6 separate regions of the Homo sapiens genome follow, and regions 2, 3, 4, 5 and 6 are each linked to region 1. The links are contacts of gene promoters, found by promoter capture Hi-C in blood cells and fetal thymus (Javierre and others, 2016). All regions are on one chromosome and are shown on one strand. Each heading gives the region's core, a stretch centred on a gene start or on the middle of the fragment in contact. The rest is flanking DNA. Distances are from core to core; before and after follow the strand shown. Region 1 holds the start of SKIC8 (SKI8 subunit of superkiller complex). Region 2 overlaps PSMA4 (proteasome 20S subunit alpha 4). Region 3 overlaps IREB2 (iron responsive element binding protein 2). Region 4 overlaps CIB2 (calcium and integrin binding family member 2). Region 5 overlaps IREB2 (iron responsive element binding protein 2). Region 6 overlaps IREB2 (iron responsive element binding protein 2).

What was found. Contacts are between HindIII fragments. The CHiCAGO score rates a contact against its expected background, and 5 or more counts as called.
Region 2: a contact is called between a fragment that was not itself captured here and the fragment with the promoter of SKIC8 in region 1, in 10 of 17 cell types (erythroblasts, megakaryocytes, fetal thymus and 7 more). The highest score is 11.3, in erythroblasts.
Region 3: a fragment that was not itself captured here is called in contact with the fragment with the promoter of SKIC8 in region 1 in 5 of 17 cell types (erythroblasts, M2 macrophages, megakaryocytes and 2 more); the score reaches 7.1 in erythroblasts.
Region 4: a fragment that was not itself captured here is called in contact with the fragment with the promoter of SKIC8 in region 1 in 3 of 17 cell types (naive CD8 T cells, activated CD4 T cells and erythroblasts); the score reaches 6.0 in naive CD8 T cells.
Region 5: a fragment that was not itself captured here is called in contact with the fragment with the promoter of SKIC8 in region 1 in 2 of 17 cell types (megakaryocytes and erythroblasts); the score reaches 6.3 in megakaryocytes.
Region 6: a contact is called between a fragment that was not itself captured here and the fragment with the promoter of SKIC8 in region 1, in 3 of 17 cell types (monocytes, endothelial precursors and M2 macrophages). The highest score is 6.8, in monocytes.

Annotation. Positions count from the first base shown.
Region 1 is chr15:78,297,664-78,302,218 of GRCh38, forward strand. SKIC8 (SKI8 subunit of superkiller complex) reads right to left here and starts at 1,946. Exons shown (of 11, transcript NM_025234.3): 1 at 1,899-1,946. RefSeq lists enhancers at 1,144-2,111, 1,664-2,013, 2,112-3,078, 2,254-2,343. The HindIII fragment of the contact is 6,178 bases long and covers 1,209-4,555 here.
Region 2 is chr15:78,541,063-78,545,617 of GRCh38, forward strand. It overlaps PSMA4 (proteasome 20S subunit alpha 4), which reads left to right. Exons shown (of 9, transcript NM_002789.6): 2 at 843-868; 3 at 1,115-1,157; 4 at 1,421-1,583; 5 at 3,128-3,205; 6 at 3,807-3,895. The coding sequence starts at 866. Among named protein-coding and RNA genes, the nearest start is that of PSMA4, 2.9 kb to the left of the region's middle. RefSeq lists an enhancer at 1-530. The HindIII fragment of the contact is 2,341 bases long and covers 1,535-3,875 here.
Region 3 is chr15:78,501,255-78,505,809 of GRCh38, forward strand. IREB2 (iron responsive element binding protein 2) reads left to right here. Exons shown (of 22, transcript NM_004136.4): 22 at 1-199. Among named protein-coding and RNA genes, the nearest start is that of HYKK, 4.0 kb to the right of the region's middle. The HindIII fragment of the contact is 5,564 bases long and covers 1-4,555 here.
Region 4 is chr15:78,125,395-78,129,949 of GRCh38, forward strand. The region is part of intron 1 of CIB2 (calcium and integrin binding family member 2); the gene reads right to left. Among named protein-coding and RNA genes, the nearest start is that of CIB2, 3.8 kb to the right of the region's middle. The HindIII fragment of the contact is 2,153 bases long and covers 1,515-3,667 here.
Region 5 is chr15:78,467,290-78,471,844 of GRCh38, forward strand. It overlaps IREB2 (iron responsive element binding protein 2), which reads left to right. Exons shown (of 22, transcript NM_004136.4): 6 at 3,243-3,312; 7 at 4,452-4,555. Among named protein-coding and RNA genes, the nearest start is that of IREB2, 31 kb to the left of the region's middle. RefSeq lists enhancers at 1-49, 50-550. The HindIII fragment of the contact is 6,487 bases long and covers 1-4,555 here.
Region 6 is chr15:78,448,117-78,452,671 of GRCh38, forward strand. All of the region lies in intron 2 of IREB2 (iron responsive element binding protein 2), which reads left to right. Among named protein-coding and RNA genes, the nearest start is that of IREB2, 12 kb to the left of the region's middle. The HindIII fragment of the contact is 688 bases long and covers 2,171-2,858 here.

The DNA.
Region 1 (4,555 bases), core at 696-3,195:
GGAAGAAAATGCTAAATTTCAGTTGGAGGTTAGGAAACATAAAGATGCAATTTTTCCTCTCAGCCAAGTTCACGGCCCTCGCAATTCTACCCATTGGCAGTTTAAGGGACCACACAGTTAAGGCATCCAGGTTCAGGTTACTTTCTTTAAATCTGCCAGCCTAAAAAGCTGCCGAAGGTTTTCCAATAACAGGAAATCAAACAAACAAACAATTTATAACTAATCCTTGCCTATGAAGATCTCAAATTGGTAGTGTTTTGTTTTGGTTTTGTAAAGACAAGTTCTCATTATGTTGCCCAGGCTGGTATCAAACTCCTGGCCTCAAACGATCCTCTTGTCTTGGCCTTCCAAAGTGCTGGGATTACAGACAGGTTGGTAGTGTTTTATTCATTTGTGACCCATGAACAGGGTTCTTTCTGCCCAGGGTAGGAAAGACAGGAAAGTGCTCAAGCCAGTTTGGCTAATGGGAATGGTATTCAACCTCTGCTTCAGCACAGCCTTCTGCCTGCTGAAGCACAGGCTTGTCCTCTTCCCTGTCATTCTGGGCCTCACATTTGGCAATGGATAGAAACAAAAAAAGGAGGAAGGCTTGCGGTAAGCCAGCTTCCAAAAACCCGGGCTCCAAAAGACAAGGGTGTGATTCTATCAATGAGTGCACATTTGAGGATGTACAATGAATCCGGTCCTATTTTAAGTAATACACAAAGATTTAGCTCACTGAAACCTCATAACCCCGCTTACTAGGTACAGTAGTTCTTTAGCTGAGGTTTTGATTTCCACAGTTCCAGAGGTCAACCGTAGTCCAAAAATAGGTGAGTAGAGTGCAGTAAGATATTTTGAGAGAGACCACATTCACATACATTTTATTACACTGTTATAATTCTATTTTATTATTATTGTTGTTATTCTCTTATTGTGCCTAATTTACGAATTAAACTAAGTAATCACAGGTATGTATGTGTAATCTGTATGAGAAAAAACACAGTATAGATGCTCCTCAACTTACAATGGGGTTACTTCCCAATAAACCTATGTAAAGTTGAAAAATTGTAAGTCAAACCACGGTAAGTCAGTCAGGGTCCTTCACTATCCAAGATTTCAGACATCCACTGGAACGTACACCCCGCAGATAAGGGGGGAACTACTATTTTTTTATTATCAGTTCCACTTTTCTAGTAAGAAAAGGGAGGCTTAGAAGCGGTTAAGGAAGCTTCCCCAAGGGACACTAAAAGGTGGATACAAGCTATAGTATAGGCTACCAAGATACACTACCTCTTACTTCAGGGTCTTATGAAGGTCAGAGCTAAGAGACTTTAGACCTTAGCCCTCTCTTGCCATCTTCTCTCTTTGGGAAACTTTTCCCTAAATTTCCTAGGCAGAATTCATCACTGACTCAGTGTTTCCAAGGAACACTACAGATGCCTCTATGAAACTACTCAGGCAAGTCAACAGCCCACAGTATTGCACGGTACTTGGCGTAAAGCGAACCCAGCCTCTGTCTGTACCCGTCCAGTGATGTCTGTATCTGTCCAGCACGCTACCTAAGACAGCGTGGCCCACTACTGGAAAACTTCGGTTAATACAGCCCTCCCAGCTACGGATAAATGATCTCCTCCGCAGAGAAACCAGCCCTAATCTCGATACTGCCCAGAACATTCTCAGGACGCAAAAGGAGGCCACCCACGGGCCTCCCCCACTCCCCTCAGGCCCCGTACACCGAGGAACAGCCAGGGCAAATGGAGCCATGGAAGCCACCCTCAGGCCCCAGGGCCTGGAGCATCCCTGAACGGACCTGCTTACAGGCAGCCTCGGGCCCAACCTCGCTCACTCGCCCTCTGGCCTGGACTGTCAACGGCCCTAATGACCCCAATCCCCAACGGCCCTGCGCTCCAACTCACCACTGCACTGCCAGGCTGCACGTCGGAAGCCGGGCTCCGCGCGACTGCGACGCGCAAAGATGAGCTATCGAAGGGGCGGGGCATCGCGCCGGCCCCGCCCTCACGGCTCGGAGCACTCCGCAGCGCCCGTTGCCGTCGCTATGGCGGGCGCGGGGCAGACGCCGACGAGGGTGGGCGGAGAGAGGAGGGAGGAAGCCAGGTCCTGCTTCCAGAGGAGTGGTAGTTGGAAATTTGCTTCCGGAAGCGCAGACGTTTAGCTTCCGGCAACTGCAGGTTTAGAGGTTTGTGTTGCAATTTCATTTTGTACTTTTGAGATTGGACTAAAGCTAATAACTTCTGTTGCTGAAATAAATTCAGTGAAATCGAGCTTTGTCTTTCAAACTGCTAGTCATGACCCATTAACGTGACAGATATCAGTTTAATAGGTTGTCAACTGACTTTTTTTTTTTTTTTTTTTGAGGGCCAGGCAGAGTAGCTCACGTCTGTAATCCCAGGACTTTGGGAGCCGAGGTGAGAGGCTTGCTTGAGCTCTGGGTTTCCAGACCAGCCTGGGCAACATAGCGAGAGACCTCGTGTCTACTAAAAATAAAAACAATTAGCACATGCCTGTAGTTCCAGTTACTTGGGAGGCTGAGGCAGGAGGATCGCTTAAGCCCTGGAGGTTGAGGCTACATTGAGCCGTGATGACGCCACTGCACTCCAGCCTGGGGAACAGAACTAGACCCCGTCTCAAAAAAAAAAAAAGAGATGGGGCTGGGTGTGGTGGCTCATGCCTGTAATCCCAGCATTTTGGGAGTCGGAGTGGGTGGATCACTTGAGGTTAGGAGTTTTGAAATCAACCTGGCCAATATGGTGAAACCCCGTCTCAAGTAAAAAAAAAAAAAACAGAAACAAAAACAAAATTAGCCGGGTGTGGTGGCATGTGCCCGTAATCCCAGCTACTTGGGAGGCTGAGGCAGGAGAATCGCTTGAACCCTGGAGGCAGAAGTTGCAGTGAGCACAGATCACACCACTGCACTCCAGCCTGGGCAACAGAGTGAGACTGTCTCGAATAACAACAACAAAAAAAGATGGGAAGAGGCTCATGCCCCATTATGGAGGCCGCCCTGTGGCTCAGATGTGGTGGCTCACTCCTGTAATCCCAGCACTTTGGGAGGCCAAGGGGGGAGGATTGCTTCTGGCCGTGATTTCAAGACCAGTATGGGCAACATGGCGAGACCCAATCTCTACAAAAAATTTTAAAGTTACAGACGCAGTGGTGTGCACGTGTAGACCCAGCTGCTCAGGAGGCAGAAGTGAGGATCACTTGAGCCCAGGAGTTTGAGGCTGCAGTGAGCTATGATTGGGCCACTGCACTGTAGCCTGGGTGACAGAGTGAGACCCTGGCTCTAAAAAATATTTTTCGAAAAAACTAGTTTTGAAGTTCAAATATATATATAGAGAGAGAGACGGAGGACTATTAGACCACTTACAACTAGGTGAAGTTCATCTTTGGGGGCTTTTTTTTCTTTTGAGACTGAGTCTTGCTGTGTCACCCAGGCTGGAGTGCAGTGGCGCAATCTCGGCTCACTACAACTTCTGCCTCCTGGGTTCAAGTGATTCTCCTGCCTCAGCCTCCCCAGTAGCTGGGACTACAGGCACCCACCACCACACCCGGCTAATTTTTTTTTGTATTTTTTTTTTTAGTAGAGACGGGGTTTCACCATGTTGGCCAGGCTGGTCTCAAACTCCTGACCTCAGGTGCTCCACCCACCTCTGCCTCCCAAGTTGCTGGGATTACAGGCATGAGCCACTGCACCTGGCCATCTTTGGGGGCTTTTTGAGGAGGCTATGTGTGGTGAGAAATTGGCAAATACACCCACATCTCCCAGGACCTATTCTCTTGTCCTCAGTAATCTCACATTAACACAAAAGAGAAGACATCCTGCAGCTCTTCTGCTGCACACATGACTTCCCTGCATGCCAGCATCCTTAACCCTCAAGTTCACATGTTTCAGAGTGATATGACTAATTTTTCTCAGTCACATTGACTGGAGAGCTATTTCTCTCCTTCCCAGCTCTGTGACATCTCTGTCCATAGAAATTTCATCCAGCCCCAGTGGACCCTCTGCATGTCACTGGCTTAAAAAGTTTGGGTCAAAGTGAGCAGACTTCAAGACTGAATTGTCAAAATTCTTATGTGGCATCTCTTATAAGTCAAGATATCCTTGTAACCATTCTGGATCTATTGGACCAGGGTCAGGCATGTGCCCCTGAAGCTAAGGAAGAATGTACAAATTATATCATGAAGCCAGTGAGCTGATTTTCAAACTTAGATTGACTTAAGTGCTGACTGGTGTTCGGGCACATTCCACAGAGCTAAATACACAGAAACTGACCCTGCAATGGCTGGGATGTGGGTTCCTGAAGTGTGGAAAGGAATTAACATTAGTACTACAAAGCAATGGCTTTTAGCAGTTAAATGAGTGACCTGCTGCCTTCCTGTATAACCAGTTGCCTTAGTTTTGGCCAATCTGCTGCTTTGTTTTTGTTGGTGACATTTACGGGTTTTTGTGGGTTTTGGAAATAGATTATTATGTAACCTCTCCCACACCGAGATAATTGGGCCATCTTCACTCTAACTTTTAGCTTTTGAATATGAAGAAGTATTTTTGAAA
Region 2 (4,555 bases), core at 1,455-3,954, 240 kb after region 1:
AGTGATCATTTAAAATGCCAATCAGTTCCTGTGGGCCTTGGGAATCATTCAGAGGAGCCCCATTGGCTGAGAGATAAAATTCTGTTTTTACCTGGGCACGCGGGCTCTCCAGGATTTGATTCCAGCTTACCTTTCCAGTCTTGATTCCCTATATTCCAGTATTTGGAAATGTGGGCCTTGGACTGAGGCTTTACCAAATAACGCTGAACACCTAGTATTGCCTTTTGCACGAATGGTACTGATGGTGCCCAAGATAACTGCCTCCACCCCCAAGTTCAGGACCCAGATCACTCTCTGGAGAAGGCCTCAGCCTCTTGCCTTGGCTTTCAAGGCTCTGCGTGATTTGGATACTCGCTTAGCTCTTATTTATATATATTTTAAAAGCATCAGCAGTTTATCTCATGCCCACTAAACTATCCTGCCTCCGTACCCTTTGTTCATACTTTCTGCTCTGTGTGGAATGCCCTTCTTTCTTCCCCTGTTCTTTCTCTTAGACCCAAGGGTTCTCAGCCTTATTTCTGCCTCTCCCATCTCTGATTTACTTTCATTTTCTGTATCGATTTCTCAAAAAATACTTTCTTGATTCTTTCATCATCCCTTTTCCCACCCTACCCCCGGTTCCTCTTTCCACATTATAATCTATGACTGCCTCTCTCACCTAACTGCCAGTATTAGCTTTTCAGGACAGGAACTGGTTTTACACATTTTGGTATTCCAGCATCTAGCATAATGCCTGACACTTAGCTGAATAAAGGGAGTAAATAAAACAGATTTGTAAAGTCAGCAAATGCTTTTTAATTTGTGAATCTTATTTTAATGATGATCTGATTTTCTTTTTACAGGAACTATATAAAGTTCAGAAAACATGGTGAGTTAATACACATGCCAATAAACGGTTGCCTGATAAACAGTATTGCTTGTACTCAGTTTACAGACTTGAGTGGGAAAATTGAAATAGAAGGAAAGCAGTGAGAAGGTGCCTTTTTTCTTGTCAGTTTCCTCTCACCTATTGAACTTTGTATACCAGGATAGGTTTTGTAAGATCATTTGTAGGCTTGCAGGAGTTGGCCTACTTTCAGTGGGTAGGAATCACTCATGTGTTTTTCCTTTGCAGTCTCGAAGATATGACTCCAGGACCACTATATTTTCTCCAGAAGGTAAAATAGAAATTGTTTAATCTGCCTCAAGTTTAAAAATAAATGTGTTAGACTTTTAGAAAAAAAAATTACAAACTTTTTTTGGTAGTTGCAAAGTTCATCCTTTTTGTACTTTGAAGCAATTATCATCACCAGGTTGATTATACCATAGAAGAGTGAAAGTGGAAATTTGTTTCTAGCTTGCTTCATTGCTGATTTCTTTTGGGCCAGTGGTGCAGGAGCACAGAGGAGAGTCTTGGCTTCTCACTGCTTTTGTTTTGTAGGTCGCTTATACCAAGTTGAATATGCCATGGAAGCTATTGGACATGCAGGCACCTGTTTGGGAATTTTAGCAAATGATGGTGTTTTGCTTGCAGCAGAGAGACGCAACATCCACAAGCTTCTTGATGAAGTCTTTTTTTCTGAAAAAATTTATAAACTCAATGAGTAAGTGAGATTTTAGGAAAGAGTTTAAAAAAAATCTCACTTTCTCACATAAGTGGGATCTATGTAATTTGGGAGGGCTCTTCCGTGCGATGTGGTAGAATTGAAATTGTGCCTTTATTTTGCTTGAAACCTCTTTGAGGCCTGGTACCATGTGTTACTCCTTTTAAGTGCAGGGCAAACACTTAGTGGAGAAACTAGCATTGTGTAATGATAAGAGTACAGACTTAGTAGTCACACAGATTTGGGTTCAACTCCAGGCTTCACCCATGCAGGCTATGTGACCTTGCACCGATTATTTAATTTCTTTGGGCCTCAGAGCCTCCTAAAGTGGTTGTGGCAGTTTAATGAAATAAAATGAATGAAATAAAATAGTATAGTATCTGGCATTTAGTAGGCCCTCAAAGTATTGTTTAGAATAGCTACGCAGGATTTTGTTGAATTACACTGAATCTTACTAAAGAACAAGCCTCTTAGAGGTCTCGAAGAATTTAGCCAAGCCTTGTACACTGTGTGAAATGTTTGTTATATTTGAGTGTGCAGAACTTTGCAGCTCATGGAGAGCTGACCGTGCTAAGTAGAGACTTTCCTTTCAGTGGTGGTGGGCTTGGTAAATGCTGATTATCAGGGCCTTTTGATAAACTTGTCCAAAGTGGTGTCACCCCTCCACAGAGCCTCTGTTGGGACCACTCAACAGCTGGCAGGCTTGGCTAGGCGTAGTCACAGGGCGAGTCTCAGCTATAAGAGAGCCAGGGCAGCCCTCAGGAAGTGGGCCCAAAAAAATGAAATGCACCTCTAGTAGGAGCCTAGCCCTGTACTTCCTAAGCAGGCTTGTAAACCCTCCTGCCATTGTCCCCTGTCACCTCTGTCAAGCCAGGCCTTAGGAAATGAATATTACTCAAGAGCAGTCTGTCTAGCAAAATCTTTTTTTTTTTTTTTTTTTTGAGACAGATTCTTGCTCTGTCACCCAGGCTGGAGTACGGTGACGCCATCTTGGCTCACTGCAGCTTCTGCCTCCTGGGCTCAAGTGATCCTCCCACCTCAGCCGCCCAAGTAGCTGGGACTATAGGTGCGCACCACCACACCCAGTTAGTTTTTGTATATTTTGTTGAGATGGGATTTTGCCGTATTGCCCAGGCTGTTCTTGATCTCCTGGGCTCAAGCCCTCCATCTACCTCGGCCTCCCAAAGTGCTGGGATTACAGGCGTGAGCCATTGTGGCAAGCCTGTCTTTTTATTCTTTGTTGCTGAATCTTCTTGAGATTACATTAGCTTCTTGGCGTTAATTTTGTTATCCTATTCATAGGTGGTAATGATAAATACATCTATTAAATAACTTAAAGGGTGCATTTGTTTATCTTTCATGTTGAGTGACATCGAGTAAACATCTCCTACAAAGATAAAACTTGTAGGTTTTTTCTGAAGGAAGTAGCTGTTGTGAAGCAAACATAGTGAATTTCTAATAGAAATTAGAATTTTTTAAATACTTATAAACACTCCTTGCAAGCATCTTCCCTGCTTACAGATCAATGTCTTTTTTTCTTCAAGGGACATGGCTTGCAGTGTGGCAGGCATAACTTCTGATGCTAATGTTCTGACTAATGAACTAAGGCTCATTGCTCAAAGGTATGGTCATAAATAGCATAACTGATGATACAGAAATTAGTTTTGATGTTTCTTTTTTTTTTTTTTGAGACAGAGTCTCACTCTGTCACCCAGGCTGGAGTGCAGTGGCACGATCTTGGCTCACTGCAACCTCCGCCTCCCGGGTTCAAGCGATTCTCCTGCCTCAGCCTCCCAAGTAGCTGACCACCACACCGGGTTAATTTTTGTATTTTTAGTAGAGACGGGGTTTCACTGTGTTAGCCAGGATGGTCTCGATTTCCTGACCTCGTGATCCGCCTGCCTTGGCCTCCCAAAGTGCTGGGATTACAGGCATTAGCCACTGCACCTGGCCTAGTTTTGATGTTTCTAAGGAGAGCTCACTTTTGCAAAGATTAAAGTCATTAAAAATCTTTGAATTGAAAATTACAGATTTTTTTCAACCAAACTTACAAAATATTATTTACTATGAGAATATTCAGATGTTGACTTGTTCCCTCCCCTTCAAATTACAAATGACTGTTAGGTTGTCCCCATGGCATAGATTGCTTTTCAGAGAATATTTTCCTTAGAGTCTGTCTGTGTTTTAGAGAAAACTACTAATGTGCCCATCTCTTTATCCTAGGTATTTATTACAGTATCAGGAGCCAATACCTTGTGAGCAGTTGGTTACAGCGCTGTGTGATATCAAACAAGCTTATACACAATTTGGAGGTATTTAATTTTTTTGAAAATTTTATTCGAAAAAGTTAAGACATTTTATGAGTTATAACCCTTTTGAGGTAGTAAAAAATTGAAAATAGACCCTTTGTTTTAAATTAAATTTAATTTTTTTAATTGGCAAATAAGAATTGTACATATTCATGAGGTACATAATGATGTTTCAGTGCACATAATGATCAGATCAGGGTAAATGGCACATTCATCATCTCAAACACTTGTGTTGGGAGCCTTCCATATCCTTCTAGCTATTTGAAACTAATATGTTATGGTTAACTATATTAATCCTACAGTAGTATAGAACACTAGAATTTCATACATTCTTGCTTCATGAATGAACGTGTTCCTCCACCATGTAGATTACCCTCGTTTTATTAATAGGATATTGAAAGTCCAAAACAACATTTTCAAATCTGGAAACTAACTGCTGTTTACATAATAATGAAATTCAGCACTGGTCCTTTGTCTGTTCCCTCTTCTGGCTGTGTCCAAATCGTAGAAACAAAAGTCGAATTTGTAATGGAGCTTATCTATGGTAGCCAGAATACAAAACAGTTTATGAATGCTTAAGTTCACAGAGTAGGGTTTAGCTACCTTCACTGAGCTCAAGTAACTGTAGTGATACTAAATTTAGATTATTGATATGTTTGGCTT
Region 3 (4,555 bases), core at 881-3,380, 200 kb after region 1:
ATCACTTTGTCTATCACTAAGTAATAGACAAAAATCATTGTCTATTATTTAAAGCCAACAAAACAGTGTAACAGTTTTAAGTTCAATAATGTTAAGTATTGTATAGAAATATATTGGAGGCAAAGTTCAGTTGATGACAATTGTGTATATGTTACTGATGCTGTAAATTATTTTTAATAAAGAAAATTGTATTATCACATTTGATTCTTGTTCTGTTTTGTAGTAGTTGAAAATAAAACAACATGATGTAAAAAATATGCTGCCATCCGGCTGGGCACGGTGGCTCACGCCTGTAATCCCAGCACTTTGGGAGGCCGAGGCAGGCGGATCACGAGGTCAGGAGATCGAGACCATCCTGGCCAACACAGTGAAACCCTGTCTGTACTAAAAATACAAAAAAATTAGCCGGACATGATGGCGGGCGCCTGTAGTCCCAGCTACTTGGGAGGCTGAGGCAGGAGGATAGCATAAACCCGGGAGGCAGAGTTTGCAGTGAGCAGAGTTCACGCCACTGCACTCCAGCCTGGGCGAAACAGTGAGACTCTGTCTCAAAAAAAAAAAAAAAAAGCAAAAATGAAATGTCCCGCCATCCAGATGCCATCCAGGAGCAGCTGAGGATGCCTGCTCCCTGTGCTGCCCGTTCATTAGTGTTCATGAAACAAGTCATCGGAAGCTGGGAGCCAGGATCCCAGGTGTATTTGTTTGTTCTCGCATTGGTATAAAGAAATGCCTGAGACTGGGTAATTTATTTTAAAAAGAGGTTTAATTGGCTCATGGTTCTGCAGGATGTACAGGAAGCATGATGCTGGCATCTGCTTGGCTTCTGGGGAGGCCTCAGGAAACTTACAATCAAGGTGGAAGATTAAGTGGGAGCAAGCACTTCACGTGGCCAGAGCAGGAGGAACAGAGAGACAGGGGAGGTGCCACACACTTTTAAACAACTAGATCTCAGGAGAACTCACTATTGGGACAACACCAAGGGGGATGGTGTTAAACCATAAGAAACCACCCCCATAATCCAGTCACCTCCCACCAGGCCCCACCTCCAACACTGGGGATTACAATCCGACATGAGATTTGGGCGGGGACACTCATCCAAAAAGACGTATCCTTTCTTCCCACTATTATTAGCAACCTAAAAGAGTAAGGTTTATTTCTTAGAATTCAGTAATCATAAACCATAATTGGCACTTTATTAGAATTTTCTAAGGATTCCAATTTAGTATTCTAAGAAGTTTGCATTACCTAAAGGCTAATACCAACATAGGCACAAGCTGATAGTTTGAATATGCAGTCTAGGAGGAAACTTAAGAGCTTCATCAGTGTAGCATTTAGTTGGTTTACAGTTTTCACTTGATGCTAATTTTGCTTTTTAATTACAAAGTAGCTTCAGATTTACCATTTTGATTTGATGTATGTTGTAAACCTGTGTTCTGTACTTGAAAAATGCATTTATTGCAAAAGCAGATGCATATGTAATTCTCACAAAATTTGCTGGTATAATGACAAGTGTGGCCAGGCGAGGTGGTTCACACTTTGGGAGGCCAAGGCAGGAGGCAGGAGGATCACTTGAAGTCAGGAATTTGACCCCACCCTGGGCAACATAGCAAGACCCTGTTTCTTAAAAAATAATAATAATTAGTTTGGTGTGGTGCTGTGCACCTGTAGTCCCAGCTAGTTGGGAGGCTGAGGCAGGAGGATCGCTTGAGCCTAGGTTGAGGCTGCAGTGAGCTATGATTTATGCCACTGCACTCCAGCCTGGGTGACAGCAAGACCCTGTCTTTTAAATAAGTGTGTTGTCACTGTGAATTTTGTGTTTATGTGGTGTTAGTACTGAATTTTAAGCATTTTTTTCAGTATTTCCCTATCAATATCTATATGATCTGTGGCAGGGTCCCTTTTTATTACCAATATTGGTAATTTGTGTTTTCTTTTTTTTCCTTGATTAGTCTTTCTAAAGGGTTAGAAATTGAGTTAATTTTTTAAAGAGCCAATTTTTTACATTATTTTCTCCATTGTTTTCTGGTTTTTTGTTTGGTTTTGGTTTTGGATTTTTTTTTTTTTTTTTTCTTTTTGAGACGGAATCTGGCTCTGTTGCCCAGGCTGGAGTGCAATGGTGCGATCTCGGCTCACTGCAACCTCCACCTCCCGGGTTCAAGTGATTCTCCTGCCTCAGCCTCCCGAGTAGCTGTGATTACAGGCATGCGCCACCATGTCTGGCTAATTTGTTTTGTATTTTTAGTAGAGACGGGGTTTCACCATGTTGGCCAGGGTGGTCTCAAACTCCTGACCTTGTGATCCGCCCACCGGGGCCTCCCAAAGTGCTGGGATTACAGGCATGAGCCACCGTGCCCGGTTTGTTTTGTTTTATTGGTTTCTGCTCTGAAGTATTTCCTTTCTGTTACTTATTTAATTTCCTCCTTTCCCCCAGCTTTGTAACACTTTTCCTCCAATGTAAATGTAAATATTTAAATTTTCCTCTAAGTGCTGCTTTAGCTGTAGCCCACCGTGGAAACTAAAGCCAATTTTGAGCATTTTAAACAACTTGTAATATATAAAGGAAGTATCATAAAACTGCTGGGATATTGTTTTATGAGACATTGTTTTATAATGTAAAATCATGTCCATAATCTCACTGCAAATTGTTCATTTTGTTTCACTCCAGTTTTGTTTTTTTTTTTTTTTTATCGCTGAGCTCTTTTTTAAAAAAATTATAAAAATAGAGGTGGGGGTCTCACTGTGTTGCCCAGGCTGGTCTTGAACGCCTGGCCTCAATCAGTCCTCCCACCTCAGCCTCCCAGACTGCTGGGATTACAGGCATGAGCCACCATGACCAGCCACTGAGCTATGTTTGAGAGCAACTACTTAAAAGTGCTCCAGTAGCCAACTGAAGAAACGTTAATACAATGACATGACATTTTTCCCCCCTAGAAACGGGTCTCACTATGTGGCCCAGGCTGACCTCGAACTCCTGGGCTCAAGCACTTTTCCTGCCCAAGCCTCCTGGAGTAGCTGGGACTATAGACATGCAACACCATGCCCCGCTTAAAATGACATATCTGGCCGGACACGGTGGCTCACACCTGTAATCCCAGCACTTTGGGATGCCAAGGCGGGCGGATCACGAGGTCAGTTCGAGACCAGCCTGGCCAACATAGTGAAACCCCGTGTCTACTAAAAATACAAAAATTAGCTGGGTATGGTGGCATGTGCCTGTAGTCCCAGCTACTCGGGAGGCTGAGGCGGGAGAATCGCTTGAACCCAGGAGGCGGTGGTTGCAGTGAGCTGAGACCGCACTGTTGTACTCCAGGCTGGGCGACAGAGCAAGACTCTGTCTCAAGAAAAAAAAAAAAAATGACAACGCATCTTGTCTTACATTGGTGGAACTTTTTAAAATGTTGTAAATGTTGTAAATGTTTAAAATCCAATGTTGGTATTATTGAGAGGAAAACATGATTTGACAACATGTATTAAGAGGCTTAGACCGGGTGCAGTGGCTCACGCCCCTAATCCCAACATTTTGCCAGGCTGAGGTGGGAGGATTGCTTAACCCAGGAGTTCAAGACCAGCCTGGGAAACATGGCGAAACCCGTCTCTACAAAAAATTAGCCGGACGTGGTGATGCGCACCTGTAGTCCCAGCTACTCGGGAGGCTGAGGTGGGTGGATCCCTTGACCCCAGGAGGCGGAGGTTGCAGTGGGCTGAGATCACGCCACTGCACTCCCGAGTGACAGAGTGAGACCCTGTCTCAAAAAATAAAAAGGCCTTAAAAGTGTTTATTCTCTTATACCTAGTAATATGATGCTGAGCAGTTTTAAACACATAAAGTGCACGAAAGATTTATGTATGAGGATATTATTATTTTTTTTTTTTTTTGAGACGGAGTCTCGCTCCGTCGCCCAGGATGGAGTGCAATGGCGCGATCTCGGCTCACTGTAAGCTCCGCCTCCTGGGTTCACACCATTCTGCTTCAGCCTCCCGAGTAGCTGGGACTCTAGGTGCCCGCCACCATGCCCGGCTAATTTTTTTGTATTCTTAGTACAGACGGGGTTTCACCGTGTTAGCCAGGATGGTCTCGATCTCCTGACCTTGTGATCCGCCTGCCTCGGCCTCCCAAAGTGCTGGGATTACAGGCGTGAGCCACCGCGCCCGGCCGAGGATATTCTTTAAAACAAGGAAATGGTCACTTAAAGTGAAAAAGGCAATTTACAAAGTACATTTTTTTTTTTCTTTTTTGAGACAGTATTGCTCTGTCATGCAGGCTGGAGTGCAGTGGTGCGATCTCGGCTCACTGCAAACTCCATCTCCCAGGTTCAAGCGATTCTCCTACCTCAGCCTCCTAGGAGCTGGGATTACAGGCGCTAGCCACCACGCACGGCTAATTTTTGTCTTTTTAGTAGAGATGGGGTTTCACCATGTTATCCAGGCGGGTCTCAAACTCCTGAACTCAAGTAAGCCACCTCCATCGGCCTCCCCAAATGCTCGGATTACAGGCGTGAGCCACCACACCCTACCAAATACTATATTTCAGAAGAATTCAGGGAGTGGAAATGCA
Region 4 (4,555 bases), core at 1,341-3,840, 170 kb before region 1:
TCCTGCTCTCTTCCCCCCGATCTGTCCTCCTTCCCCTCCCCTCTTCTCTCTCCTATCCCATGTGTTGGAAAGGAACTATCCAGGTCCTGATTCAAGGGTTCTCCTGACAAAAGATGCAAACACTTCCCCTATAACCCTGCTCCCTGTCACAATTACTTACACCTCCCTACATCAATGGTCCTCACGCTGTGGCTCCTGGACCAGCAGCATCAGCCTCACTGGGAACTTGGTGAAAATGTAGATTCTTAGGCTCCACTCCAGATCTCTTGAATCAGAAACTCTGTGGGTGGGGTCCAGGGATCTGCACTTTAAAAAACCCTCCCAATGATGCTGATGCATGTTGAAGTGTGAGGAAGTCTGCTCTAGAGCAGAATCACTTGGGGGACTGTTTAGGATACCTGTGTCCCCCATCCCTCAGCAGACCCCAGACAAATTGTAGAGAAATCCCCAAGGATGGATCCAGGCATTGGCTGTTTTCAAAGCCACTCAGGTGGTCCCAACGTGCAACCCAGGCTGAAAACCACATCACAACCAGTACATGATGTACCATGCACCTGGCACCTGGGGCTCTAAATATCCAATTTTTCTTAATCCTTATCATTAGCCAATGGGGGTGGGCATTATCTCTCTATCTTAAAGATGGGCAACTTGAGACTCAGCAAAGTTGAGTAGCTTGCCTTAAGTTGCACACACAGCCCAGGAGGGCTGGGAATGGAACTTAGGCCTCTGTGCTTCCCTTTCCCCTGCCCCCCCCCCTTTTTTTTTTGAGACGGAGTCTTGCTCTGTCACCCAGGCTGGAGTACAGTGGCATGATCTCAGCTCACTGCAACCTCCGCCTCCTGGGTTCAAGTGATTCTCCTGTCTCAGCCTTCCAAGTAGCTGGGATTACAGGCATGCGCCACCATGCCTGGCTAATTTTTGTATTCTTAGTATAGAGATGGGGTTTCACCATATTGGTCAGGCTGGTCTCGAACTCCTGACCTCAGGTGTTCACCCAACTAGGCTTCCCAAAGTGCCGGGATTATAGGCATGAGCTACCACGCATAGCCTTCTTTTTTTCTTTTTAATGGGAGTAGACCTTGGGGCCCTCACTGGCAAGGAAGCAGAGGCAAGAAAAGATCCTCTGTGCTTCTTGGCCACTGCCTATGACTACAAACAGAGCCATGACCACTGTACACCAGCCACTCCATGTCCTGCGTCTGCTGTGTATTCCTATACTTATACACAGCAGGTGCTTAATACAGGCTTGTGGGATGAGTGACCAGACTTTTCCATCTATGCCTTCCACAGCAGTTACGTTATTTCAGTGGCTGCAGAGTCCCTGCCTAGTCTTAATCTTTCTTCTCTTTCTGAACATTTAGTAACACCTATTTCTTGGTTTTAACATCACTGACAAAACTGCCATGAACCTGCTCATCAACTGATGTTTCACTTTTTCTTCTGTTCACTTGTTTCCCTGGGACTCACCCCAAGGAGGCAGTGCACAGGTAGTGAATATGGCAGGTGTTCTTAAAAGCTTCTCAGGGCTCAGGGTGGCCTAGAAGTGTGGCAGGGGAAAAGGTTTGGTAGTCAGGGTCAAATTCTAGTCTAGCTTCAGACCCTTAGGCAAGTCATTCTCCTTTCTGAGCCTCAGTTTCTGCATCTGTAAAGTGGAAATAGGCCTCTCTGAAGGGGACAGTGTGAAGAGCAAATGAGATAAGGTACAGGAAGTCTATAGGCCCCAGCTGATAGGAAAGAGTACAACAGCTCCATCCACCACCCAGGTCCCAAAGGCATCTCCCCAGAGTCGGTAGCTCTGCTGTCTTTCCCTTCTCTGGAGTCACCAAACACCCTGCCCACCACTACACCCTCAGCTGCCCTGGGAGCTACAGCCCTATGTCTGAAGGAACCCTTTCTTACACTTTTGGAGAGCAAGTGCCCCATCACTGCTTGGTTCCTGACAGTACACAGGGACACAGGGACAGGTCTTCCGGCAAAGGTCAGGTCTGGGTCATGAGGAGTGGAAGGGAGGGAAGGAGAGAGGGGGCCTAACCCAGGAGTGATGGGCTCTCAGAACATTGGCAGCAGAAAACAGGACAGGCTGGGCTTTTACAGTAGAAGCCCAGACGTTTTCCCAGTTAAGGCTTGAGTTCTGCCTCCGAGCCTATATTCACCCTATTCCCCAACTGGAGTGCCCTCTCCTCTTTCTCCAGGTTGTCCAAACCCTTTCTCCAAAGCTCAACTCAAGGGTGACTTGTTCCAGGTAACCCACCTGCCTCCCATCTCCTACATGCCTGGTCTGCCTGTGCCAGCTGTCAGGAGCCGAGCCATGGGCCCTCCCAGCTCTAATGGAAATGGCTCTCCATCCAGCTCTGCCAGCTCAGGCCTCAGCACTGCCCAGGGGACCATCACACGGCTCAAGGTCAGTCTCCAGTGATCTTAGTTGATCCCCACAAGAACCCTGTGACATGAGCACAGCTGGGTTAGTAGTTCCCATTTTAGAGGTGGAGACACTTAGGCCCAGAAGGGAACAGTGGCTTGCTAAGGCCCACAGCATCAACTACCCAGCTGACTTGAATCTAGGGCTTCAGAATCTTTGTCTAGAGTTCTTTGCTCTCCTGGAGCCACGCCTTAACAAATATTTGTTCATTCATTTGACAACATCCTCCAAACATCTCTTTTGTGCCTGGACAGAGGCCATACAAGAAGGAAGCTGGAGTGTAAACAGTGAGGTGCCCAGTATAAACCATTCTGTGGCCACACAAGGGACTGGGGATGTATATGTGTCAGGCTCCCTGAGTACTCCCAGCTGAATGGATTGGTGGAGAGAGAGTCAGGGAGCCCGTCCCAAAGAGGTGAGGCCTGGCCTGGACAGAAAGATGGGCCAGACTAGGTTAGCAAAGGAGCAGGGAGAGCAGCAGGAGAACAAGGGCCAGAGGTGAGGGAGGGCTTGGCTAGAAGCCCTTCAGTGTGCCTAAAACTTTGGGTGCAAAGGGAAAGGGAGTAAGAAATGAGGCTGGAGGCCCGGCGCGGTGGCTCACACCTGTAATCCCAACACTCTGGGAGGCCAAGGCAGGTGGATCACCTGAGGTCAGGAGTTTGAGACCAGCCTGGCCAACATGGCAAAACCCTGTTTTTACTAAAAATACAAAAATTAGATGGGCATGGTGGTGGGTGCCTGTAATCCCAGCTACTTGGGAGGCTGAGGCAGGGAAAATTGCTTGAACCTGGGAGGCGGAGCTGGGATGCGGAGGTTGCAGTGAGCCGAGATCACACCACTGCACTCCAGCCTGGGTGACAGGGCGAGCGAGACTCCGTCTCAAAAAAAAAAAAAAGGAAGAGAAAGAAAGAGATGAAGGAAGAGTGAGAGAACTAAGAGGGCGGGTGGCTGGAGGGGGATGGGCAGGAGGGGCGCAGGAGGGAGCAGTCAGACCTCCAGTTTGCAGGAGACTGAGCAGGCCTAGCCCAGGGCCCTGGCTGTCGTGATGGAGGAGGGGACCTCCAGGTGACCCACAAAAGAGGCTGAGTCACAGGCCTTGTTCTTAACTGAAAACATGGGCTGAGGGAGAGCAGAGAGTTGAAATGGCTGGAGGAGCAGCAGTGGGTGTTGGAGAGGCTGTGACCCCTGTTTTGGAGTTTGAGGGGTCTGGGGGATGGCCGTACAATGCAGAGGAGTGTTCTGGACAGAAGCTTAAATGTTGGGAATCACCGGCACCGGGAACCAAGAGGGTGCACCCTGCCCAGGAAAGGTTAGACTACCAGGCTGGGAGGTCCCAAGAAACCCTAGGTGTCACTTAGGGGAGAGGGTGCTGTAACTCAGGCTCACCCCCACTCAGCCCGGGCTGGCAATGGCTGGCTGGAGAGCCAGAGGGTAGGAGATGTGGGGCTCTCAGGTTTCACAGCTCTCATTTCTCCCACCCCGCCTGGCAGGGTCTAGCTAGGCTCTGGCAAAGAATCAGAACATAACACTGGGACTGGCTCCGATGAGTAACCCAATGCCAGGCTGGTTGGAGTGGGAACCTGGGCTCCCCACCCCCATGAAGCTACTCCTCACTTCTGAGCATGGCTTGCCTGCTTGCCCCTGCCCACTCCCAAGCCTTTATCCACGCTGTCCCCTCCACCTGGAATGCCTCCTCTGGGCCCCACTGGGCAAAACCCGACCTATCTTCCCAAGGCCTGCTCAAGTGCTGTATCGTTTCTGGACTTTGTCCCCCTTCCCTGCTGGCCTCCCACTGCCCACTAGTGCCCTTCCCTAGAACACACTCCACCACCTGCCTCTATCACAAGGGCCACACACTGGAGGTGAGAGTCTGTCTCTGAGTGTCTGAGACTGAGTGCCTTGGGAACAAAAAGCACACATGGCCCAGCCCAGCCCACTCCCAACTAAAGAAGTGAGCCTAGGAGTCAAGATTCGAAATCCTGTGTGAGCCCTGAATGGCTCCTCAGCCTCTGTTTACACGTCTGTAAAATGGGCTAATAATCCACCTCACTGTGATGATCAAGTGAGTTGATGCGTAGAGGGCATCAATTACTGTGCCTGGTACACAGCAGGTGCTCCATAAATGCGTCTCCCCTC
Region 5 (4,555 bases), core at 1,058-3,557, 170 kb after region 1:
AAGTGATTTCCTATATGGTAACATGGAAAGTAGTAAACATGCCTAGAAAAGAATTCTATTCCTAGGATTTGGCTAGATTTCCTAATGTGTAATTTTTTTAAATAAGAAAAAGAGTTCTATGGCCAGGCGCGGTGGCGCATGCCTGGAATTCCAGCACTTTGGGAGGCCGGGGCAGGCAGATCACCTGAGGTCAGGAGTTCGAGGCCAGCCTGGCAAACATGGCGAAACCCCATCTCTACTAAAAATACAAAATTAGCCAGGCATGGTGGCAGGAACCTGTAATCCCAGATACTTGGGTGGCTGAGGCATGAGAATCGCTTGTACCAGGAGGCAGGGATCACAGTGAGCCGAGATCACGCCACTGCACTCCAGCCTGGGTGACAGAGCAAGACTCTGTCTCAGAAAAAAAAAAAGTCATACAGCTTTTTAAAATATGTACTATAAAGTTTCCAAACTTTTAAAATTTATTTATTTATTTTTAGAGACAAGGTCTCACTATGTTGCCCATGCTGGTCTCAAACTCTTAGGCTCAAGCGATCTGTCTGCCTTGACCTTCAAAAGTTGGTTTTTTTTGTTTTGTTTTGTTTTGAGACAGAGTCTCACTCTATTGCCTGGGCTGAAGTGCAGTGTCATAAGCATGGCTCACTGCAGTCTCGATCTCTTGGACTCAGGTGATCCTCCCACCTCAGCTTCCCAAGTAGCTGGAACTTCAGGCATGCACCACCATGCCTGGCTGATTTTTTCTGTATACAGGGGGTGTCACTGTGTTGCCCAGACTGGTCTCGAACTCCTGGCCTCAAGTGATGCTTCCACCTTGGCTGCCCAAAGTGCTGGGATTATAAGCATGAGCTACTGTGCCCAGCCATATTTTTATTTTTAAGAGAGTTATGTGAATTGTTTTTGTCTTAGTTTAAATAATTCATGTAAAATATAACAATTTATCCCATTGTTAGTAAACTGTCTTTTTTTTTGAGATGGAGGGTCTCTCTGTCACCCAGGCTGAGGTGCCGTGGCACCATCTGTAGCCCACTGCAGCCTCCAACTCCTAGGCTTAAATGATCCTCCTGCCTCAGCCTCCAGAGTAGCTGGGACTACAGGCACACACTGTCAGGCCTGACTTATTTTATCTACCTTTTTTTGGGGTAGAGATGGGCACTATGCTGTCCAGGCTGGTCTTGAACTGGGCTCATGCAGTCATCCCACCTTGGCCTCGCAAAGTGCTGGGACTGCAGGCATGTGGCACTCCACCTGGCTTTTTTTTTTTTTAATTTAGTAAAAAATTACTTGCACTTTAGGTTTTAAAAAGTTTAACACATTTAAGATTTAGAGTAGCTAAGAGTAATGTCCATTCATTTATCCTAAGTACCAAATAATACGTTAATTCCTTTGTCCCTGACTGGATCTTCCAAATTCTGTCTAGTTCTAAAATATTGGGCTTAATATTTTTATGAAGCCACAGGTTATAGTGACCTCGTGTGCTCTTCCTTTCTAAGGATTCAGTATAATCTCTGAGTCTTTTGCCATCAAATTTTGAAAGTTTTATGAAGTCACTTTCTTGTTCCTGTTGCCTAGTTGTCCTGGTTGTTAGGAGCATGTTGACTTTTGAGATTAACACCTCTTATACAGAAATTAATTTCCTGAAAAGGAAGATTTATTGATTCAAAATCATTGATTTCTTTAGTTTTTGTTTCTTTTTATAACTGGCACATCGTAAGTGCTTAGTGCTATATTTTTATTTCTAAAAATCCAATCTGCTGTAACATTTCCCCATAATTTTGACTCCGAATTACAAAGTATTAAGATAGATTATATTGTAGTTCCTGGCTATGTGATAATAGTTACTCATTTGTATCTTTTAATGTGTCAGTGAAGTATTAATTATTGACTTAAGAAGTTGAGTAGAAAGATGAGAGCATAACCTTTGGCACTTCAAATTACCCCCTAGTTTGAAGTCAGGTTATGAGCCAATAAATGTTTGTATGGCACTTTGTAGCCATAAGTGCTATTGAAAGGTAAAATAATTGGAGTGGCTCAGAAAGCTGTTTTCCCTGAGGCCCTGAGAAAAATCTCACTAAGATATGCTTGGCTTCAAAAGATGACTCAACTATGAATTATTAAAGTAATCTTTGTTTAAAAAAAAAAAAAGTTGTCCGAGTGTGGTGGCTCACACCTGTAATCCCAGCACTTTGGGAGGCTGAGGCGGGTGGATCAGTCACCTGAGATCGGGAGTTTGAGACCAGCCTGACTAACATGGAGAAACCCCATCTCTACTAAAAATACAAAATTAGCCGGGTGTGGTGGTGCATACCTGTAATCCCAGCTACTCAGGGGGCTGAGGTAGGAGAATCGCTTGAACCCGGTAGGGCGGAGGTTGTAGTGAGCCGAGATCATGTCATTGCACTCCAGCCTGGGCAACAAGAGCGAAACTCCGTCTCAAAAAAAAAAGGTTGACAATTAAACAACTGTAATTATCTGGACTAATTATCTGGTCCCTGGAGGACACGTATAATTTAAGTTATATTGATATTCTAGTCAACACCCAGTCACCAGCTGGCAGGTAAAAGAAGCAGCTTAAAGCTGTTTGAAATAATTTTTAAAAATAACTATTAGATAAAAATAATTTTTTAAAAATGATACTATGTTACTGGTTAGAGGTCAATTATTTTTGTCTCTTAGTTTAAATAATTCATGTAAACTATATTTATAATCCATGTAAAGTGAACTGCTACTTATACATAAAGTAGAGCCTTCTTTTGGTATGAGATGAATGAAAGATTTTTGCCAAAAGCTCTTTTTAAACTGTAAAATGATGTTGAGATGTTGTTCGTCAATGCTGCATAGAAATAATCAGCACCCATCTCCTAGTTTAATTGGCACAAGAGCCAGGTGGGGAGGAAAGTACATGCTTGTCGTTGAAGCTACTACTTTCCTCTTTTCTTGCAGCGGATAACCCAACAAAGTGTGTTTTTATTATCACTTGAGTACAGTTTTGGACATTGGTGTAATGTGGCTTTCTTACACTCAGTAAAATACAACTCACTTTTGTAGCTTTCCGGTGTGTTATTTTAAAGCAGAACTTTGTTGAAAAAGAAAATAATTCTGAGAAACCTAGTAAATAGTTCTTCCAAGGATTTTAAGAATATATTTGTGTATATATATGCCTAAGAACGATGACTTAGAAAGAAACAAGGCAAGTCTTTTTTGTAATACATACGTTTAATGCCAGCTCTTCTTCCTTTTAGACCTGAAACAGTGTTAAAAAATCAAGAAGTAGAATTCGGCAGAAATCGAGAGAGGCTTCAGTTTTTTAAGGTATAAATGATTCAGGGAAATTTTTGTATTGTAATATATAAACTAATGATAGGTACAATTTTTATATCTTTGTTTCTTTTTCTTTTCCTTTTTTTTTTTTTTTTTTTTTTTAAGACAGAATCTCGCCCTGTTACCCAGGCTGGAGTCCAGTGGCGTGATCTCAGCTTACTGCAGCCTCCACCTCCTGGGTTCAAGCAGTTCTCCTGCCTCAGCCTCCCGAGTAGCTGGGATTACAGGCGCACACCAGCACGCCTGGCTAATTTTTGTATTTTTAGTAGAGATAGGTTTTCACCATGTTGGCCAGGCTGGTCTTGAACCCCTGGCCTCAGGCAATCTGCCTGCCTCGGCCCCCCCCAAAGTGCTGGGACTACAGGCATGAGCCACCGTGCCTGCCGTATTTATTATTTTATTTATTTATTTATTTATTTTTGAGGAAGAGTCTTGCTATTGCCCAGACAGGAGTACAGTGGTGTGATCTTGGCTCACTGCAACCTCTGCCTCTTGGGTTCAAGCGATTCTTGTGCCTCAGCCTCCTGAGTAGCTGGGATTACAGATGTGCACCACTGCCTGGCTATTTTTGTATTTTTAGTAGAGACGGGGTTTTGCCATGTTGGCCAGGCTGGTCTCGAGCTCTTGGCCTCAAGCCATCTGCCTGCCTTGGCCTCCCAAAGTGCTGCGATCACAGACATGAGCCACTCTGCCCAGCCACTTTAGTAGTTTCTAAAGGTTTTATAGTAGTAGAACGCTTTTGTTCCTCAAATGAAATCTTAATTGGAAACCCTATTGTGTAGAGAAAGATGAAAACAGTGGCTCTAGTTTAGGAGAGAGAGCTTGGAGGGAGGGCCTTGTACATTGAGCCTTTCTTCCTTCTCATTCCTGAGAATCTTTGGAACGCAGTTGAATACTGCCATTTGTCTGGACTTTTTGAACATTTTTATTTGACCTAAATTAATTTTGTCTTAATAAAAAATACATTTAGGTTCAGTATCTGTATATTTGTTTTTAACTATGTGATATGAACTTTGTATTTACCATATTGAACATTAGTTAAAATATTTTTAATGTTAATATTACACCTTGATTGTGAGCACAAATTTATATACTAACATTTGTATTTCTTAAATTTAAACAAAATATAGTGGAGTTCAAGAGTTTTTAAGAATGTGGCAGTGATCCCTCCTGGAACTGGAATGGCTCATCAAATAAACTTAGAATATTTGTCAAGAGTGGTTTTTGAAGAAAA
Region 6 (4,555 bases), core at 1,265-3,764, 150 kb after region 1:
CTCAATGGCAATGTATGTATGTATGTATGTATATATTTATTTATTTGAGACAGAGTCTTGCTCTGTCATCCCAGCTGGAGTGCAGTGGCATGATCTCAGCTCACTGTGACCTCTGTCTCCTAAGTTGAAGTGATTCTCGTGCCTCAGCCACCCAAGTAGCTGGGATTACAGGTGCACGCCACCACGCCCGGCTGATTTCTATATTTTTAGTAGAGATGCGGTTTCACCATGTTGGCCAGGCTGGTCTCGAGCTCCTGGCCTCATGTGATCTCCCTGCCTCAGCTTCCCAAAGTGCTGGGATTACAGCCGTGAGCCATCACGCCGGGCCCAATGGCAATATATTTTAAAAGAGAGAAAAAAAAGGTCAGAATTTATTTATTTATTTGAAGAAATAAGGTCTTGTTCTGTGGAGGTCAGACTTTGTTTATTGGAAATCAGCCCTATCCCGCCTGGTTCTGGTTAGAGACAGAAACACTTACTTGACTCTAGTCAGACATAGGCATGGGTTAGTCCTGTTGCCAGGCCTGATGGGATTACAGGGCCTTCTAGAACAGCTTCCTTATCTTTTCTCCAGGCCCCTAGCCTTCAGCAGGGTTAGCTTTACCCTGTAGCTATGCTGGCTGGTTTCTGCTCTGGTGTCCTAGCCCCCTTTCCCAGTCTGGACTCCAAAGATGGAATCTCTTTGAGGGCTTTTGGCAGGCCTAGAGAACCTGTGGCTTCAGAGTCTTTCCCCCTTCCTTCAGGCTGATGGGTTTCTCTGTTACATGTAGTTATCTAAAGCCTGCTTACTAGAGTACTAATATTCCCTATGGGTAATTTCTTCACTACTGCTTGAACTTGGAATTTTCCATTTCTGCAAATATCAAAACCCTTTTACTTCAGTGTGCTGCTTCATGATAAGCACGGAAGATAGTTTTAAATCTGTTGTGTACAGATAATACAGATAAGGTTAAAAATCTGAGTAATTTGCCTAAGGTCACAACATATCTTCTAGGTGAGGAAACTTAGTCTTAAACTCATATCTTCTGATTTCAAGACCAACGCCTTTTCTTTCCAATACCATTCTGTTTCCCGGTTTAGTAATGTCAGTAATAAAAAAAATTTTTTTAAGTATTTGTTGAGTATGTATTTACCGTATCCAGTTCTATAAGCTCTGTTATACACTTGGCCAAGGTCCCACAACTAATTACCGTTACCTACTAAGTGGTGGAACAGAAGCATGAACAAAAATCTTGATTCCAAAACCTATGCTTGTAAAAACCTGTTACAGCAGGGGTTGCAAGCTCATGTTTATAGGGATCAGAGAGGCAACGTAAACAAGTGAAATGTTCTGCTGGGAATTGTGTGGCAAACAGGAAGGCACATGTCCTATATAGAGAGGTAGGTGCTTACTAAGTTCCAGCAGAAGTACAAGGTTGGTATTGTAAAGTTTTCTGATTGAAAGACCTGTAGTTTTTTAAATGTTGGCAGTTAAATTTAAAATGTTAAAACTCTGCAGAACAAGCAAAACATGTCTGCAAGCCAGCAGACATGAAACAGAGTTTGTGACCTCTGTACTGAGAGATACACTGTGTTTTCTAATCTTTGCAGCAGCTATTTAGCCTTGAATAGTAGAATCTGCAGTCTTGGGAGCCTTGGTTTGCCTTTCATCGGATGCTTCCCGTATACAAATAGCAGACCTCAGCATTTTTTTTTCAGAGCCGAACCACCTATTGGATCTTCCACTAAGTAACTGATCAAAAGGATATTTATTGTTATCAGCTTATTTTAGAAGTGTGATGACACGAATTACTATACTAAACCAGTTTAAATTACCATCATCCCAGTTCCTCCATGGCGTTTTTAATTACCTGTCCTTAAAGGGTTAGCTTTATGGATTCATAGAATTCTAGAAATTCCTGATTAGAAGAGGCAGACGTAATCCAGTGCATTTTTTTTACTTGTTGCATGAGTCTCTAAACAATATGATTTAATTTATTGAGCTAATATTTATTGAGTACTTGTATATTTCTAGCAAATGAAAGATGGCTAAGATAGCATCTGTGCTAAAGAAAAGACACGGTTTAGTAATGGGGACATACATGGAAAGTATATGTGAAGTACAGTACTATGTTGTAGCAATTTGGGTCCAGTCAGGAGATAGAAACCACATAATAGGTTAAACAGAGGAAGCTTAATATACATAATTATTAACTATGGTAAGAGTAATTGTAATACAGGATAATTGTATATAATACTGTAGGGCTAAGGGAGAATACCCAAGGAAGGACAAACTTGGAAGAGGTTCAGAACTCACTGGAATAGGTGTGGGTTGGCCCACAGATAACAGAGAAGTATATTGGTTTTGGCCAGGTTGGAGCTGGTCTGGAGTTGCTGGGTAGGCAGTAGGCCACCCTCTGGAGTGCAGGCAGGGATCTGATGATCAGGAACTAGTGGTGTGGGCATGCGTTGGGAAAACAGATGCTGGTAGGGGGCAAGAGCCCTTCAGAGCTCATGGGCCATGTCGGGGCTTGTAGAAGGAGTGACAGCTCAATATATGACCCTCGAGGCAGCTTACAGATGTAGTCCACGTGCTGTCAGAGCAGCAGGCCTTCTTTACGGGGGTGCCTCAGTCCAGGTACTGGCACAGGCAGGATGCCTTCAGAGTGTACAGCTATGTAGGAACTCCAGCTCCTAAGTTGAGAGGGCTGTGGTGATATTAACAAATTTGTGTGTGTGTGTGTGTGTGTGTGTGTGTGTGTGTGTGTGTGTGTGTGTATTTTAATATACAATGTAATGGTGTCCACCTTTGGAAGTTCTGCATAACTTGATGAACTCTTATTTCTCAAAGACCAATAATGTAATGAGCAGACTGTAGAAGCTTATTTCATTCAAATCTTGCTCTGTTGCCCAGGCTGGAGTGCAGTGGCTCAATCTCGGCTCACTGCAACCTCCATCTCTTAGGTTCAAGCGATTCTCCTGCCTCAACCTCCCGAGTAGCTGGGATTACAGGCGCCCACCACCACACCTGGCTAATTTTTTGTATTTTTAGTAGTGATGGGATTTCACCATGTTGGCCAGGCTGGTCTCGAACTCCTGACCTCAGATGATCCACCCACCTCGGCCTCCCAAAGTGCTGGGATTACAGGTGTGAGCCACCGTGCTCAGCCTTCATTCACTTTTGAGAAACTTTTTGCCAAATGTACACATTTGAATAACCATAGTTTGTCAGTTCCTTCAAGTGAAAAACTGTTCTTTAAAAAAAAAAAAAGCTTAATTTTAGCTTGCAGCTCAATCATACAAGAGTTTTTCTGCAAGCAACTGATGTACTTTGTTTTCGAGTAGAAATATTGTATAAATATATTTCATTTTTGTCACACAGAATATTAAGACTTGACCTCAGCAGTTGAGATTTAATAAAATTAACAGTTTTTCTGCTTCTTAGGGACATTTTTAAGTGAAACTGGTATTTTGTGTGACAGTAAACAATACGAGTACTACAGGTTGAGTATCCCTAATCTGAAAATCTGAAATCTGAAACTTTTTGAGCACTGACGCTCAAAGGAAATGCTCATTGGAGCACTCTGGATTTTTTTCTTTTTTCTTTTTTTAAGATGGAGTTTCACTCTAGTCTCCCAGGCTGGAGTGCAATGGCACAATCTTGGCTCACTGCAACCTCTGCCTCTAGTTCAAGCGATTCTCCTGCCTCAGCCTTCCTAGTAGCTGGAACTACAGGTGTGAGCCACTGCGTCCAACAGGGTTTCACCATGTTGGTCAGGCTGGTCTCAAACTCCTGACCTTAGGTGATCCACTCGCCTCAACCTCCCAAAGTGCTAGGATTACAGGAGTGAGCCACCACACCTGGTGGATTTTGGATTTTTGGATTAGGGATACTCAACCTGTAGTACAATTTGGTGCCACTGCTTTGAGTCCTGCTAAGGCATCAGCAGTTTAGGACCACATTTCGAAAATCACAGTATAGGGTTGGGGGACCACCTAGGGAACCTAAGTGAGAGATGATGTACTGGTGGTTGGGACTAGATTTAATGGTGATATTGATAGAAGACAAAAAGATGTAGGAGAGAGGCATTGAGGAAAATGCCTCGATGTTTTGGCATAAACATCTGGAAGGATGGTGGTGCTATTTACTGTGCTAGGGAATGGAAGATGAGGTGATGATAAGGGGAAGGGGCAGAGGGGAAATCACTGAGTTCAAGTTTAGGTACTAGTGAAGTTGGGAACATACCAGTATTAAAGTAAACATGTTCACCTCCTGAATCGGGCATGTGGTTTTGGAGCTTAGAAGACAGACTTGGACTACAGAAAATATTTTGGAATTATTAGTGTAGATGTAGTGATAATTGAAGCCATAGGAGCAGTTGTACTCCCTGGAGGAAGCAGTATAGAGTAAGAAAAAAAGTGAGTCTCAATATGAACTCTGAGGAACTCCTACATTTAGATATCAGATAAAGGAGTAGAGGTTAACAAGGAAGATAGGCCTACCTAGAAGTGTTAAGAACTATAAAGGAGGCTTGGCATGGTGACCCACACCTGTAATCTCAGCACTTTGGGAGGC